Regions from separate parts of the Homo sapiens genome. Here region 1 is linked to region 2. Evidence: promoter capture Hi-C in human tissues and cell types (Jung and others, 2019). All regions are on one chromosome and are shown on one strand. Each heading gives the region's core, a stretch centred on a gene start or on the middle of the fragment in contact. The rest is flanking DNA. Distances are from core to core; before and after follow the strand shown. Region 1 holds the start of LOC105375537 (a long non-coding RNA gene). Region 2 holds the start of SLC37A3 (solute carrier family 37 member 3).

Region 1 (7,342 bases), core at 2,806-5,305, 660 kb after region 2:
CTCAAAAAAAAATTTTTTTTTTTATTAAGTTGCTTTTTACCCGTTTCCCATAGTAGAATATACGCTCCAGGAGGGCAGGGATCTTTGTTATTCATGGAGGTCTCCCAGGAACCTAGAAGAGTACCTGCATCTAGTAAGTGTAGAATGAATGAATGAGGTCAGCAACCATGGCTGTCAATGTGGGGAAATAAAAAAGGAAAAGGATACAATGAAGTCCTGGTAATATGTAGAAAATCCCCCTCCCCTGGAAATACTGGATATCTAGAAGGGGAATTGAGAGTTATCCCACTCTAGAACTGTCAATACCTTGTCCTGCAACATGTAAAAATGTCACTTGATTGGGCAGGATGTAAGGGAGACCCTCCACATTATGGTTCAAACGGGGGCAATGGTGCCATAGTCTACTCAGTCTACTATAAGAACATACCATAGACCAGGTGGCGTAAATGACAGAAATTATTTTTCACAGTTCTGGGAGTCCGAGATCAGGGTGCCAGCATGGTCAGTTTCTGGTGAGGGCTCAGATACTGGCTTGTAGACAGCTGCCTTCTCACTGTGTCTTCATGTGGCAGAGAGAGAACTCTGGTGTCTCTTCCTCTTCTTATAAGGGCACTAATCCCATCATGAGGGCCCCACCTTCATGACCTCATCTAAATCCAATTACCTTCAAAGACCCCATCTCCGAATACCATCACATTGGGCATTAGTGCTTCAATATAAGAATTTTTGGGGAACACAATTCAGTCTATAGGAGACAATGTAGCAAGTGATCAGGACTTTCAGGATCCGGCCTCAGAAGTCAGGTTGGAAGTAGAATGGGATGCTGTCCACATAACCTATGCCTCCTCAGCCCAGAATTCAACGATTGGAAAACATTGAGGCATTGCATAGGCCGAGGGGCATCGCTGTGCACTCATTCAGGTCAAAACCTGGCTGGGCAGCTGCCATTTCCTTTTCACTTTTCCAGATCTTGAGGAATTGTAGTCACTTACAGGTCTAATTTCTTACAAATCATGTTTTTCATGATTTTTAATGAATCATGTCTTGTTCTTTTTATTTATAAAAAAATACTGAGGCTTCTGGGATGGGGAATGCAGAGTCTAAGAAGTGGGTATCACACTATTTAAAATACTGTGATTAAAAAATATTTTAATATTTATGAAAGATTATCCCATAATAATATTTTCGCTGTTGTCATGAATATTTTTTCAGATTACCTTGAAAATTATTTTTTCAAGTTCCAAATCAAACAAATGGAGATTTCAATTGGCACCGTATTAAATCTATAAATGACTTTGAAAAGCATCGGCACTTTTATAGTATTGAGTTGTTTCATTTAGGAACATGGTAGGTTTTGTTTTGTTTTGTTTTGTTTTGAGACAAAGTCTTGCTCTGTCGCCCAGGCTGGAGTGCAGTGGTGTGATCTCGGCTCACTGCAGCCTCTGCCTCCTGGATTCAAGCGATTCTCTTGCCTCAGCTCCCGAGTAGCTGGGGTTACAGGTGGGCGCCACCACGCCCAGCTAATTTTTTTTGTATTTTTAGTAGAGATGTGGTTTCACTATGTTGGTCAGGCTGGTGTTGAACTCCTGACCTCAGGTGATCTGCCTGCCTCGGCCTCCCAAAGTGCTGGGATTACAGGTGTGAGCACCGCGCCTGGCCAGAACATGATAGGTTTTTACATTTTGTTTATATCATTTGTGTCTCTCAATGAAGTTTTGTAGTTTTCTTCATATCCTCTCCTTTCTTTGTAACTGTTATTCATAAGTGTGTTATAGTTTTTGTTATCTTGAATGGAAGAGTTTTCCAATATATTTTCTGATAATTAATTGCTATTATGTTGGAAAGTATTGATATCTGTTTATTTTTCTTATATTCAGCCATCTTATCCGACTCTCTTATTAGTGCTACTAGCTTGTTAGTTTATTCTTTTGAATTTTCAGTCATTTTCTGTGTATAGTGATAGTTTTGCATCCTCCTTTCCAATGGTTATAACACTTATTTTTGTTTCCTGCCCTTTTCTTGACCTCTAATATATTAAATAGTAGCCTGATGCAGTGGCTCACTCCTGTAATCCCAGCACTTTGGGAGGCTGAGGCGGACAGATCACTTGAGGTGAGGAGTTTGAGATCAGCCTGGGCAACATGGCAAAACCCCATCTCTACAAAAAAATACAAAAAAATTAGCTGGACATGGTGGTGCATGCCTGTAGTCCCAGGTACTAGGGAGGCTGAGGTGGGAGGATTGCTCTGGGCTCCTTGCTTGAGCCCAGGAGGTGGAGGCTGCAGTGAGCTGTTAAGTGTGCCACTGCACTCCTGCCTGGCTGACAGAGGGAGACCCTATCTCAAAAACCATCATATATATACGTATGTGAGACAGCATATTTATCTTGGTCCTGATTTTATTGGAATGTCTCTGAAGTTTCACTGTGTGCCAGTTCACCGTGTCCTGTTTGCCTTAACATCTGTTCCTTGCCCTTCCCCGCTCTGTTGTACTGCAGTGGACTGAAATCGGCGTGTCCCAAGGTTCCCATGTCAGCTGGCTTCCTGCTGAGTGCAGGCCCTGGGAGGTTCTGGCAAGAGATTGGTGAATAGAAGAAAGGGAGAAGCCCAGGTATTCCTCCCTTGTTCTCTGCCACAAGTAGCAACTCTAGCAACAGCTGCATCTGTTTCGTGGCTCCAGCTCTGGCCAGACAGGTGTCTCCATGGGTCCAGCTTCTGTTGGGCAAACCTGGTTCCAGGTTTCAGGAAATACTTCTTCCTTTTTTTGTTTCTTCAGCTAGGCTGCCCTTAGTCCCCAGCAAGAGGGTCCCTTCCCAACCCCACGTTAGAGGGCTCTGCATATTCCAAACACACACAAATAACTGAACTGAAGAATTCATGGTTGCCTCTGTGTCTTGAGTTCCTGCATCAGGTCTGCACAGCATGGGCTGTGACCCTAAACTTCTGCTCTTCTGGTTAACACAGAATGGGCCCCAGGAAAGTGCTCTGACATACCTCTTGGCCTGTATCCTCAAAACAAAAGACAACTGCATCTGAGTGCCATTAAGTGTTTTGGGTTGTGTTGCTGCTGATGTTGGGGGTGGATTCTGCTTTGATGTGCTGAGAGGATCTGAAGGTAGAAGCACTTAGACACAAAAGAGGACAAAATGATTAACTTGTCAATCTTTTCTCCCAGACAGCATGTGTTCAGTAGATTTTTGAATAAGGAAGTATAATTTCCCAGAAGTCATAAGTATCCATCTTCTGTCTTCCTTTGGTGTTCCACTTCGTGGTTCTGGAGTTACACGGGAATTAGGATGATATTTTGCAACAGTTGTACACGGTACCTGAGGACTGTTTTGCGATATTAAGCAATTCATGTTGCTCTTAACTATATTTCTCGACCCATTCTGAATTTTGGCCTAAAATACAGAAACATGCTAATGTCACATATCGTACATAGTTTAATGTGTTACTAAGAGATGTGGCCTCAGCTTGAGCCAATAGTTGTAAAATTCTTTGGAGAAATTAAAAGATTATAGGTATTTGTGCTATATCTTGAATTTATCCACAGACAAAGCACATTTAAATTTGATCTTATAGCCACTTGAAGACATATGATGGAAATTCTGACTAGAAAATGCTGCCAAAGTCATTAAATTTTATTTAGAAAATACATAAAATACATAAGGTATACTAGATATAAGATGTACCAGCTACCTGAAACAACAGATGATGCTCACATATAGAGCAAAATGTGGTCTTTGGTGGAAAAGGAAATCAATTTTGGATTTGTGCTATCCACAATTCTTTGATATGAACTATTGCTTGTTATTAATAATGTAAACAAAATAGGTAGGAGGTCCTGAAAGGGAGTCCTCCTTAAAAGGTTTCTGGCTTAGTTTCCTTTCTTTTGAGGATTTTTAACATATAAGCCAAACGAAATCCAAGGATTAAACTGAAAAAAAAAGTAAAAAAAAAAAAATGTACAGAAACAGAAATCTGTAAAAATTAGATCTGTAAAATCTTAGATCTGTAAAAATTCAGATCTAAGTTTGGCAATTTCTCACTTAATTTTTAAAATATATGTTTAAATTTTAAAGAAAATGTTTTTCTCCAAATAGAAATGAACTGCATGTGAAATCAAAATGATATTATAATAAAATATTAGGACATTAGAACAAGAAAATGAAAATGTCTTTATGACTTTAAATTAGTCAGGTGTGGTGGTGCATGCCTTTGTCTCAGCTACTTGGGAGGCTGAGGCATGAGAATGGCTTTCCCTTGAACAAGGCACATGTACCCTAAAACTTAAAGTATAATAATAATAAAATAAAAAAAAAGAAATATCCAGATTAGGCAAATCTAAAAAAAAAAAAAAAAGAAAGACTTTAAAGGAGAAGATTCATTATCCCAAAGTAATGTCTATAAAAACTATTTTCCAATCATTATAGATCAAGATATGGTCTTGATTAAAGACTGATTTTAATAAATTAAGCAGTATGTTTTGATTTTTGGTCTCCTTTATCCTAGCATTGGAATATTTGAAAGACGAACTTAAGAAATGTTATATGGATCTAGATATTACTTTAAGAGATGGTAAAAAAAAGGTATATATGATCGATCATGATTTATATGATAAAAGTAAAATATAATATTGTTCTGCACTATAAGCTTTTCATAGATGATTGTTACAGTGCTTGAAAATAACGTAAAATTTCAAAATAAGTATGCTTTAAAAATTTTACCAATACTTCCAATAAAAGTGTTACTGCCTCAGTAGAGTGAAATTTGTCCAAGTTGAAATTAATAATGCTAAAAAAACCTATCTGGCTGGGCATGGTAGCTCATGCCTGCAATCCCAGCACTTTGGGAGGCCAAGGTGAACAGATTGCTTAAGCCCAGAGTTTGAGACCAGCCTGGGAGCCATGGTGAAACCCCATCTCTACTAAAAATATAAAAATTAGCCAAATGCGGTGGCGTGCACCTGTAGTCTCAGCTTCTCAGGAGGCAGAGGTGGGAGGATCTCTTAAGCCTGGGAGGTCGAGGCTGCAGTGAGTTGTGATGGCACCACTGCAATCCAGCCTCTGCTACAGAGAGAGACCCTGTCTTGAAACAAAACAAAAAATGATCGAAAAATTACAATGAATCAAAAAGTTGTTAAGAACATTTGGCATTACCATCAACAGAAGTTATGTGAAAATCTTGATTATAGCAATAGGATTAATGATTTTTCTGGAGTAAACATCAAGAAAAATAAGAAAAAATATGTATAATTAGTTATGAATTATGAAATGCTTTTATTTTACTATGTATTTGAACATTGCTGGTTCACCAGCACATGCTATTTTGCCAACTTTTATTTATGCAAGAAACATAACTTGCTGGGCATGGTGGCTCATGCTTGTAATCCTAGTACATTGGGAGGCCAAGGCAGGAGGATTACTTGAGCCCAGGAGCTTGAGACCAGCCTGGGTAACATGGTGAAACCTCATCTTTACCAAAAAAATATGAAAATTAACCAGGTGTGGTGACACACGTCTGTAGTCCCATCTACTCAGGAGGCTGAGATGGGAGGATCAATTGAATCCAGGAGTTTGAGGTTGCAGTGGAGTACACCGCTGCACTCCAGTCTGGGTAACAGAATGAGACCCTGTCTCTATTAAAAAGAAAAAAAACTAAAATAACTTTACATGTATTTATTTCAAAATTTTGTCATCATAAAGGTATTTGTAATATAGAAGGATAGAACACACTTTGATTTAACAATTTGTCATTTGACTTATTTTAAACATTGAGACTTATGGTATGTGGACCTTCATTTGTATGCTTGCCCTGGGGTCTCTCAATGTTGCTTTTAACCCAGGGTGCTAGTGGCTTCCTGCTATCAACTTACTGTTGCCTACTTGGCTTTTTACCCTTTGATTTTGCACAAATAAGTAGATACATGTATATTTTCTTATGCTCCCTTTTTTTTCTGTATGAAAAGTAGAGTTATGGGTTGAAGTCCTAACCCTCAGTTCCTCAGAATGTGATCTTCTTTAGAAATAGTGTCATCATGGCAGGGTGCAGTGGCTCACGCTTATAATCCCAGCACTTTGGGAGGCCGAGGTGGGTGGATCACGAGGTGAAGAGATCGAGATCATCCTGGCCAACATGGTAAAACCCTGTCTGTGCTAAAAATACAAAAATTAGCTGGGTGTGGTGGTGTGCGCCTGTAGTCCCAGCTACTCGGGAGGCTGAGGCAGGAGAATCACTTGAACCTGGGAGGTAGAGCTTGCAGTGAGCCAAGATTGAGCCATAGCACTCCAGCCTGGCGGCAGAGCAAGACTCTGTCTCAAAAAAAAAAAAAAAAATCGCATAATCGTAGATGTAATTAATTAAGATAATTAAGATAGGTCAAACTGGAGTAGGGTAGGTCTCTATAGCAATATGACTGTTGTCCCCATAAGAAGAGGGAAATTTGGAGATGGAGATGCACAGAGGAGTGATGTGAAGATACACAAGAGGAGATAGTTATGTGATGACATGGGCAGACAAGTACAGAAGGATATCTGCTGGGTCATAGAGACATGTCTTTTTCATCTTAACAGTGACTCCTAATTGCCATCTAGAGTGGCTCTATCAGCTCATGCTCCCACCAGAAGTGCATGAGAGCATGTTTCTCTATGCCCCAGCCAACACTTGATATTAACAGACATGTAGATTTTTTCCCCATCTGGTGGGTAAACAACAGTATTTTAAAAACATTTGCATTCTGTAGATTACTAGTGAGGTTTTTTTCGTATGTTAATTTTCCATCTCAATTTCTTCTTCTGTAAATTGTCTTTTTATAAACTTTGCACATTTTTTTCTGTTGTGTTGTTTTATTCCTACTAGTTTGAAATATTTCTTTATGTAGGAGATGATCTTATTCATTTAAAATTATCTCTAGTTTAGGAACACCTTTTACATATCAAGAATGTTTGTTGGGTTTAATTGGTGGTCTTTTTAGCTTCTAGTGAGATGATCAAATGATGTTTATTTGACCTATTGATATGAGGCACCTGTAATTGTAAGGATCTTAAAAACCAGAGCAGTTAGATATTATGTGGGCAAGAGGAATGATACCAATGTGGAGCTTTCAAAACATGTTTAGAGGGTGTTTCTTTTTTTCTTTTTTTTTTTTTTTAATGTTTTTTTTTTTGTTATTATACTCTAAGTTTTAGGGTACATGTGCACATTGTGCAGGTTAGTTACATATGTATACATGTGCCATGCTGGTGCGCTGCACCCACTAACGTGTCATCTAGCATTAGGTATATCTCCCAATGCTATCCCTCCCCCCTCCCCCGACCCCACCACAGTCCCCAGAGTGTGATATT
Region 2 (6,667 bases), core at 1-2,500:
GCCTCCCAGGTTCAAGCGATTCTCCTGCCTCAGCCTCCCGAGTAGCTGGGATTACAGGCATGCGCCACGACGCCCAGCTAATCTTTGTATTTTTAGTAGAGACGGGGTTTCACCATGTTGGCCAGGCTGGTCTTGAACTCCTGACCTCAAGGAATCCACAGGCCTCGGCCTCCCAAAGTGCTGGGATTACAGGCATGAGACACCGCGCCCAACCCGAAGCTCAATTTCCTCATGTATTAATTAAATGAGATAATTTATATGGAGTTCTTAGTATAGAGCCTAGTATCCAAGAAACATCAAACAAACTGAAAAGAAATCATTTAAGCACCAAAGCACTGAAGACATTCCCTTCAACAACTGTTATATATATTTATGTATGTATAAATTTGTGTAAAGGTAGAAATAAACCGGTGGACAAAAAGATAACAACTGAATGATTTTGCTCACCCCAGGAACCACTCCTCCCTATAAACTATAAACTTTTCAGTAAGAGTTACCACGAGATAGCCTACCATCTTACATTTCAAAAAAACACTAAAAACTCCGGGGACACATTCCCATTATCTCCTGTCAAAACTGAGAATAAACAGAACACACCCTGCGAAGAATAAGGAGGGAATGACGAATAATTTGACCAAATTCCTTGACTGAGTTCATGCTAGTTACCAGAAAACAAAACCAGTCACTCACTGAGACCACGCTTCTTCTCTGACCTCTATACATCCTTTCCAAAGAGCTTCCTTCCCCACCTACCTGAAAAGCATCCCCTCTCCCCTGGTCCGAACGACAAGCCCTTTTCTGATCAAGTCAGAATCTCCCAGACCCACGGCCGGAGGACAGGCGGGCGAGGAGCACAAAAGCCTCTGCCGCATGGATCGGGGCCGGGCCGCAGGGTCCCCCGGGGGTCCTTCTCCTCCCCATCCACCCCATCGCAGCCTCCCCGTGACGGCCGGGACCCCAGGCCCGGGCCCAGGGAGGAGAAGGAGGGGGCGAGCGGCCGACCCTGCCTGGGCGCCCCACCCAAGGGGGGCCGCCACCTACATCTCCCCACCGCCCTCCCGACCCGGGAAGCCCCTCGGATTGGACCCGCCCCCGCCCCAGCAGGTCTTCGGCCCCACGCATCACCGCTTGCGCACCCGAGATCCGCAGTGGTCGCCGCTCTCCAGCCCCGGCTCCGCTCGCCGGGTCAGCTTGGCTCCGCTGCCCGCCTCCCCCGCCGCCAGCTCACCCCTGGCGGTGCGACCAGGGTTTCCGGACGCCCACGTGACCCTCCCGTCGCGGGGCACGCTGGGAGTTGTAGTCCCGCCACGCGGCCTCACCTGCCGGCGCGGAGGAGGGCGAGGAGGGCGGAGGCTGGGAGCCCACAGAACTCTGCTGCTGCGGACCTGGCCAGTAATGTTAGCTGCAAAAGACGAGAGGTAGAGAGAAGAAATGATATGGGGAGAACTGGTGCATCCTTTTTTTTTTTTTTTTTTTTTTTTTTTCAAAAAAGCGGTATTCGGTCTTTGTTTTTATAAAAAGTAACGTGCTGCTAAGTGTGCTACTGACCGGCCTAAATTTTAGGTGTCTAATTAAATGCAGGCCGGGCACAGTGGGCTCACGCCTGTAATCCAACACTTTAGGAGGTCGAGAAGGGAGGATCACTTGAACCCAGTAGTTCAAGACCAGCCTTAGCAACATAGCCAGACCCCATCTCTACAAAAAATGTTAAAATTAGCCAGGAGTAGTGGCATGTGCCTGTGGTCCCTGCTACTGGGGCGACCGAGGTGCGAGGATCGCTTGAGCCCAAAAGTTTGAGGCTGGCAGCTGTGATTGCTCCACTGCACCAGCCTGGGCAACAGAACGAGACCCTGCCTCCAAAAAAAAAAAATCCAACACAAGTGTCTCACACCTGTAATCCTAACACTTTGGGAGGCCGAAGTAGGAGCATCATTTGAGAACAAGAGTTTGAGACCAGCCTGGGCAAGGTAGTGAGAGCCGCCCCCCATCCACCACCACCACCGCCGCCACCGTTTCTTAAATAAAGGGAAAAAATACAGACACTTGTTCGAATTTTAAAGAAAAAAAACTTCTCTTAATCCAGAAAATCTCCACAACAACCATTACATACCTGTTCTCAAGATAAACAATCACTAGTCTTCAAATAACAGAACTTGACAACACCTTTTGTCAAACATAGTTCCTCCTTACTTAATAGTAGTAATTGGGGAGACCACTCATGTTGGCTTTATCCAGAAGCAAAACAAACTTCGCATAACTTTTTGTTGTTGTTGTTCGTTTTTTAAACTTCGCATATCTTTTTGTTTGTTTGTTTTTTGTTTTTGAGACGGAGTCTTGCTCTGTTACCCAGGCTGGAGTGCAGTGGCGTGATCTCAGCTCACTGCAAGCTCCGCCTCCCGGGTTCAAGGGATTCTCCTGCCTCAGCCTCCCGAATAGCTGGGACTACAGGCGCCCGCCACCACGCCTGGCTAATTTTTTTGTATTTTTAGTAGAGACGGGGTTTCACCGTGTTAGCCAGGATGGTCTCGATCTCCTGACCTCGTGATCTGCCCTCCTTGGCCTCCCAAAGTTCTAGCATTACAGGTGTGAGCCACCGCAGCCGGCCAAAGTTCGCATATCTTTATAGCAGGAGGTAGTTTTACAAATTGGAGCAAGGCGCCCATACCCACTAATTTAGTCTCTTACCCTCATGTAGGAACTGGAAGATACAGGCACTAACTCACGTCTGAATTTCAAAAAGATGACCCCCAAGTCCTTGAGGATACATTTCTGAGTTGTGATACTGGCAAGAGGCTCATTTCGCCGTTATAAAGATTTGTGTACATTCGAAAAGGACAGAGAAAGAAATTTTGAAGGAACAGAGAGAAGGCTGAGAAGTCTCTTTATTTTCAGCAGAGGAATTAAGCCTGTTATTTTTCATTTTTATTTGCCCTTATACAGTGGTAGTTTTGTTTCTAGCCCTTATACAGTGGTAGTTTTGTCTCTAGGCATCCAAGGAGAAATATGATGTCAGGGTGAGCAAAAATAAATGAGCCAAATATGTTACTTTTATTTTTAAAAATATATTGTGAATCGTTTATTTTTCAGCCTAAAAAAGGTAGCAAATTCTGACACATACTACAACATAGACGAACCTTCAAAAACATTATGCTAAGTGAAATAAGTCAGACATAAAAGGACCAGTACAGTACAGTTCCACTTATATGAGGTAGCCAGAGTAGTGAAATTCATAGAGTCAGAAAGTAGCATGGTGGTTGCCCATGGCTGGAGGGAAGGGGAAATGAGAAATTGTTGTTTAATGGCTATGGAGTTTCCGTTTGGGATGCCAAAAAAGTCCTGGAGATGGATGGTGATGTTGGTTGCACAACAATGTATTTAATGCCATTGAATTGTACACTTAAAAACGGTTAAAATGGTAAATATATATACATAGAGTGAAATACATAGTTTTTTGTGTTATATTTACATATGGGTGTATACATATATATGTGTGTGTGTATACTTCAAGTATATAACCTGTGTCACCACCACTCAGGGCTAGAATGCCTTCTTAGCCATGTGGTGGTGTGTATCTTTAATCCCAGCTACTAGGGAGGTTGAGGTAGGAGGATCACTTCAGCCGCACCTTTGGAGGCTGCAGTGAGCTATGATCGTACCACTGTGCTCCAGCCTGGGTGACAGAGGGAGACCCAGTCTCTTAAAAAAGAAAAAACAGTGTATATATACACACACATTTATACATATGAATGCCTTCTTTCCTGTAGCCCAAGCTATGCTCTTTGTATTTATAGTGACCTTGGTGGAGAGGGTTGGGTGGTAGACAGAGGTAAGATCTCTCTCCCCTTGACTTCCAAAACCATCAGGATATTTAAATATTTGTAACATTTGTTTTCTACCTGTAGATGTTCTCCAAGTGCTCAGTGGGTCTGAGTCAGGTGACTTTTTTTTTAAACAGTAACCACCCCAGGTGCGGTGGCTCACCCCTATAATCCCAGCACTTTGGAAGGCCGAGGCAAGTGGATCACCTGAGGTCAGGAGTTCCAGACCAGCCTGGCCAACATAGTGAAACCCCATCTCTACTAAAAATACAAAAATTAGCTGGACGTGGTGGCGGGTGCCTGTAATCCCAACTACTCGGGAGGCTGAGGCAGGAGAATCGCTTGAACCCGGGAGGTGGAGGTTGCAGTGAGCCAAGATCGCACCATTGCACTCGAGCCTGAGTGACAAAAGCTAAACCTTATCTCAGGAAAAAAAAAAAAAAAGTAACCATTACCAGAAGAAAGACAACATTTGGACACTGAACTTCATGACACTGACACCTAACAGGTTTTATTTCCTGATCACACATTTGGGGCGAATCTTTACCTACACTGGATTTCCACATTGTGCTGGTGGTTCTCACCCTGCAGCAATATTTGGCAGAGTCTTTTGTTTTCTTGCTATACCTGCCAGTGTTGAGTTTATCTCACTCAGAAGAGAGTATCCTGAAAATGGATATGTAACTGGAATTTTGGGTAAGACAAATATTTTCAAATTTATCTGAAGACATCATAGAAGTAATGTTCTTGGACAGTGAATAAATTGCCCTGTATTTCAGTGCTTCTCAAACGTTGCGGACCCCAGCCTACAGTTAAAAAGACATTTCAGGCCAGGCACGGTGGCCCACGCCTGTTATCCCAGCACCTTGGGAGGCTGATGTGGGAGGATTGCTTGATCCCAGGAGTTCGAGACCAGTCTGGGTAACAAAGTGAGGCCCTGGCTCTACAAAAAAATGAAATAAATAGCTGGGCATGATGGTGCACACCTGTAGTCCCAGATATACAGGAGGCTAAGGCAGGAAGATTGCTTGAGCCCAGGAGGTTGAGGCCGCAGTGAGCCATGACGGTGCCACTGCACTTCAGCCTGGGAGACAAAGTGAGACCCTGTCTCAAAAAAAACATTTTTTTTTTACATCACCCTGTAAAATATGCATGTGTACAACTGACCCAAACATTTTGCAAAACAGTAGTCACTGTTACTACACAAGATACATTCTGAAGTTGTTTCTTAATCCCTTCTTGTGAAAATGCTGGTTGCAACCCACAAAGGTTGATTTCATGACTCATTTATAGGTCTCAGCCCACAGTTTGGAAACAGGACACCGATGTAAATATTTTATCCAACAGGGTGTCTCTGTTTCAATTTTGCTTATTGTGTCTATAATGCCATTTAACTGCCTACATATCACATCCTATGTAGTGGAGAAAATCTGGTCCCTGTGATAGACATTGGGAGGCAGTTACTGTTCTAGACTCTGGGGAAAAAATAGTAAGGAAAATTCACCTCAGCTTTATGCTTCTACTGCCAGCATCTGGGACTGATAAACTTGAGGTTTTCTGGACGTCAACCTTTGCTCTATGGTAGAATTTTTGAGGGAGTGAGGCAGACATTTTCTTTTCAGCTTTTTCTTCTCATATACCTTCAAAGTTCTTTTAGTTTTGTTTTTGCTTCCTTCTCTTTGCATCATCTCCTTTCTCTGACTCCTCACAAAGAGATATTCAGATCTACAAAACAAAGACTTAAATTACTTACAATCTGGCCAGGTACGGTGGTTTCATGCCTTGTAATCCCAGCACTTCGGGAAGCCAAGGCAGGAGGATCACTTGAGCCCAGGAGTTTCTTCTCTTTTTTTCTTTTTTTTTTTGAGACGGAGTCTCACTCTGTCACCCAGGCTGGAGTGCAGTGGCGCGACCTTGGCTCACTGCAACCTCCACCTCGCAGGCTCAAGCGATTCTCCTGCCAGAGTAGCTGGGATTATAGGCTCACCACCAGACCCGGGTAATTTTTGTATTTTTAGTAGAGATGGGGTTTTGCCATGTTGGCCAGGCTGGTCTCGAACTCCTGACCTCAGGTGATCTGCCCACCTCAGCCTCCCAAAGTGCTGGGATCACAGGCATGAGCCACCATGCCTGGCCAAACCCAGGAGTGTCAAACCACCATGGGCAACATAGGGAGATCCCAGCTCTAAAAACAATAAATAGTGGGGCATGGTGGTGTATGACTGTAGTCCCAGCTACTTGGGAGGCTGAAGTGGGAGGCTTCCTTGAGCCTGGGATGTTGTGGCTGCAGTGAGCCATAATTATGCCTCTGCACTCCAGCCTGAGCCATAGAGCAAGACCCTGTCTCTAAAAAATATGTATATATAATAAAATAAATTACTTAAGATCTATATCCTCCTTTAGTTGGTGTTATCTCAACTAACAACCCTCAGGCCAGCTGTAGTCCCAGATATTCAGGAGGCTGAGGCAGGTGGATTGCTTGAGCCCGGGAGGTTGAGGCTGCAGTGAGCCATGAATGGTGCCACTGCACTTCAGCCTGGGTGACAGAGTGAGACCTTGTCTCCAAAAAAAAAAAAAAAATTTTTTTTTTACATCACCCAGTACAATATGCACATGTACAACTGACCCAAACATTTTGCAAAACAGTCGCTGTTACTACATGAGATACATTCTGAAATTGTTTCCTAACAAGGGACACCAGGACAAATTGAGAGCAAAGGACGCAAAAGCCCACAAGACAAGGTAAAGTAGAAGAAAGGAGCAGGGGCAGTGTCGTATGGGCCAGCACTGGTTTAATTCACTGGCTGTTCCTTCCTGTGAGGGCTTTCCGCTAGGCCGGCGAAGGCTGG

The links. The method cuts DNA at HindIII sites, captures the fragments that hold promoters and counts their contacts. A contact is called where the count stands out against the background at its distance.
Region 1: a contact is called between a fragment that was not itself captured here and the fragment with the promoter of SLC37A3 in region 2, in 1 of the 25 tissues and cell types used here (H1 embryonic stem cells).

What each region holds. Positions count from the first base shown.
Region 1 is chr7:141,054,861-141,062,202 of GRCh38, forward strand. It overlaps LOC105375537 (a long non-coding RNA gene), which reads left to right and starts at 2,020. Exons shown (of 3, transcript XR_928053.4): 1 at 2,020-2,112; 2 at 2,498-2,610. RefSeq lists an enhancer at 2,697-3,198. The HindIII fragment of the contact is 6,069 bases long and covers 1,022-7,090 here.
Region 2 is chr7:140,397,280-140,403,946 of GRCh38, forward strand. SLC37A3 (solute carrier family 37 member 3) reads right to left here and starts at 1,251. Exons shown (of 15, transcript NM_207113.3): 1 at 1,137-1,251. It overlaps LOC124901759 (a long non-coding RNA gene), which reads right to left. Exons shown (of 2, transcript XR_007060561.1): 2 at 4,304-5,543. RefSeq lists silencers at 789-1,058, 1,169-1,398 and an enhancer at 6,352-6,667. The HindIII fragment of the contact is 36,664 bases long and covers 1-6,667 here.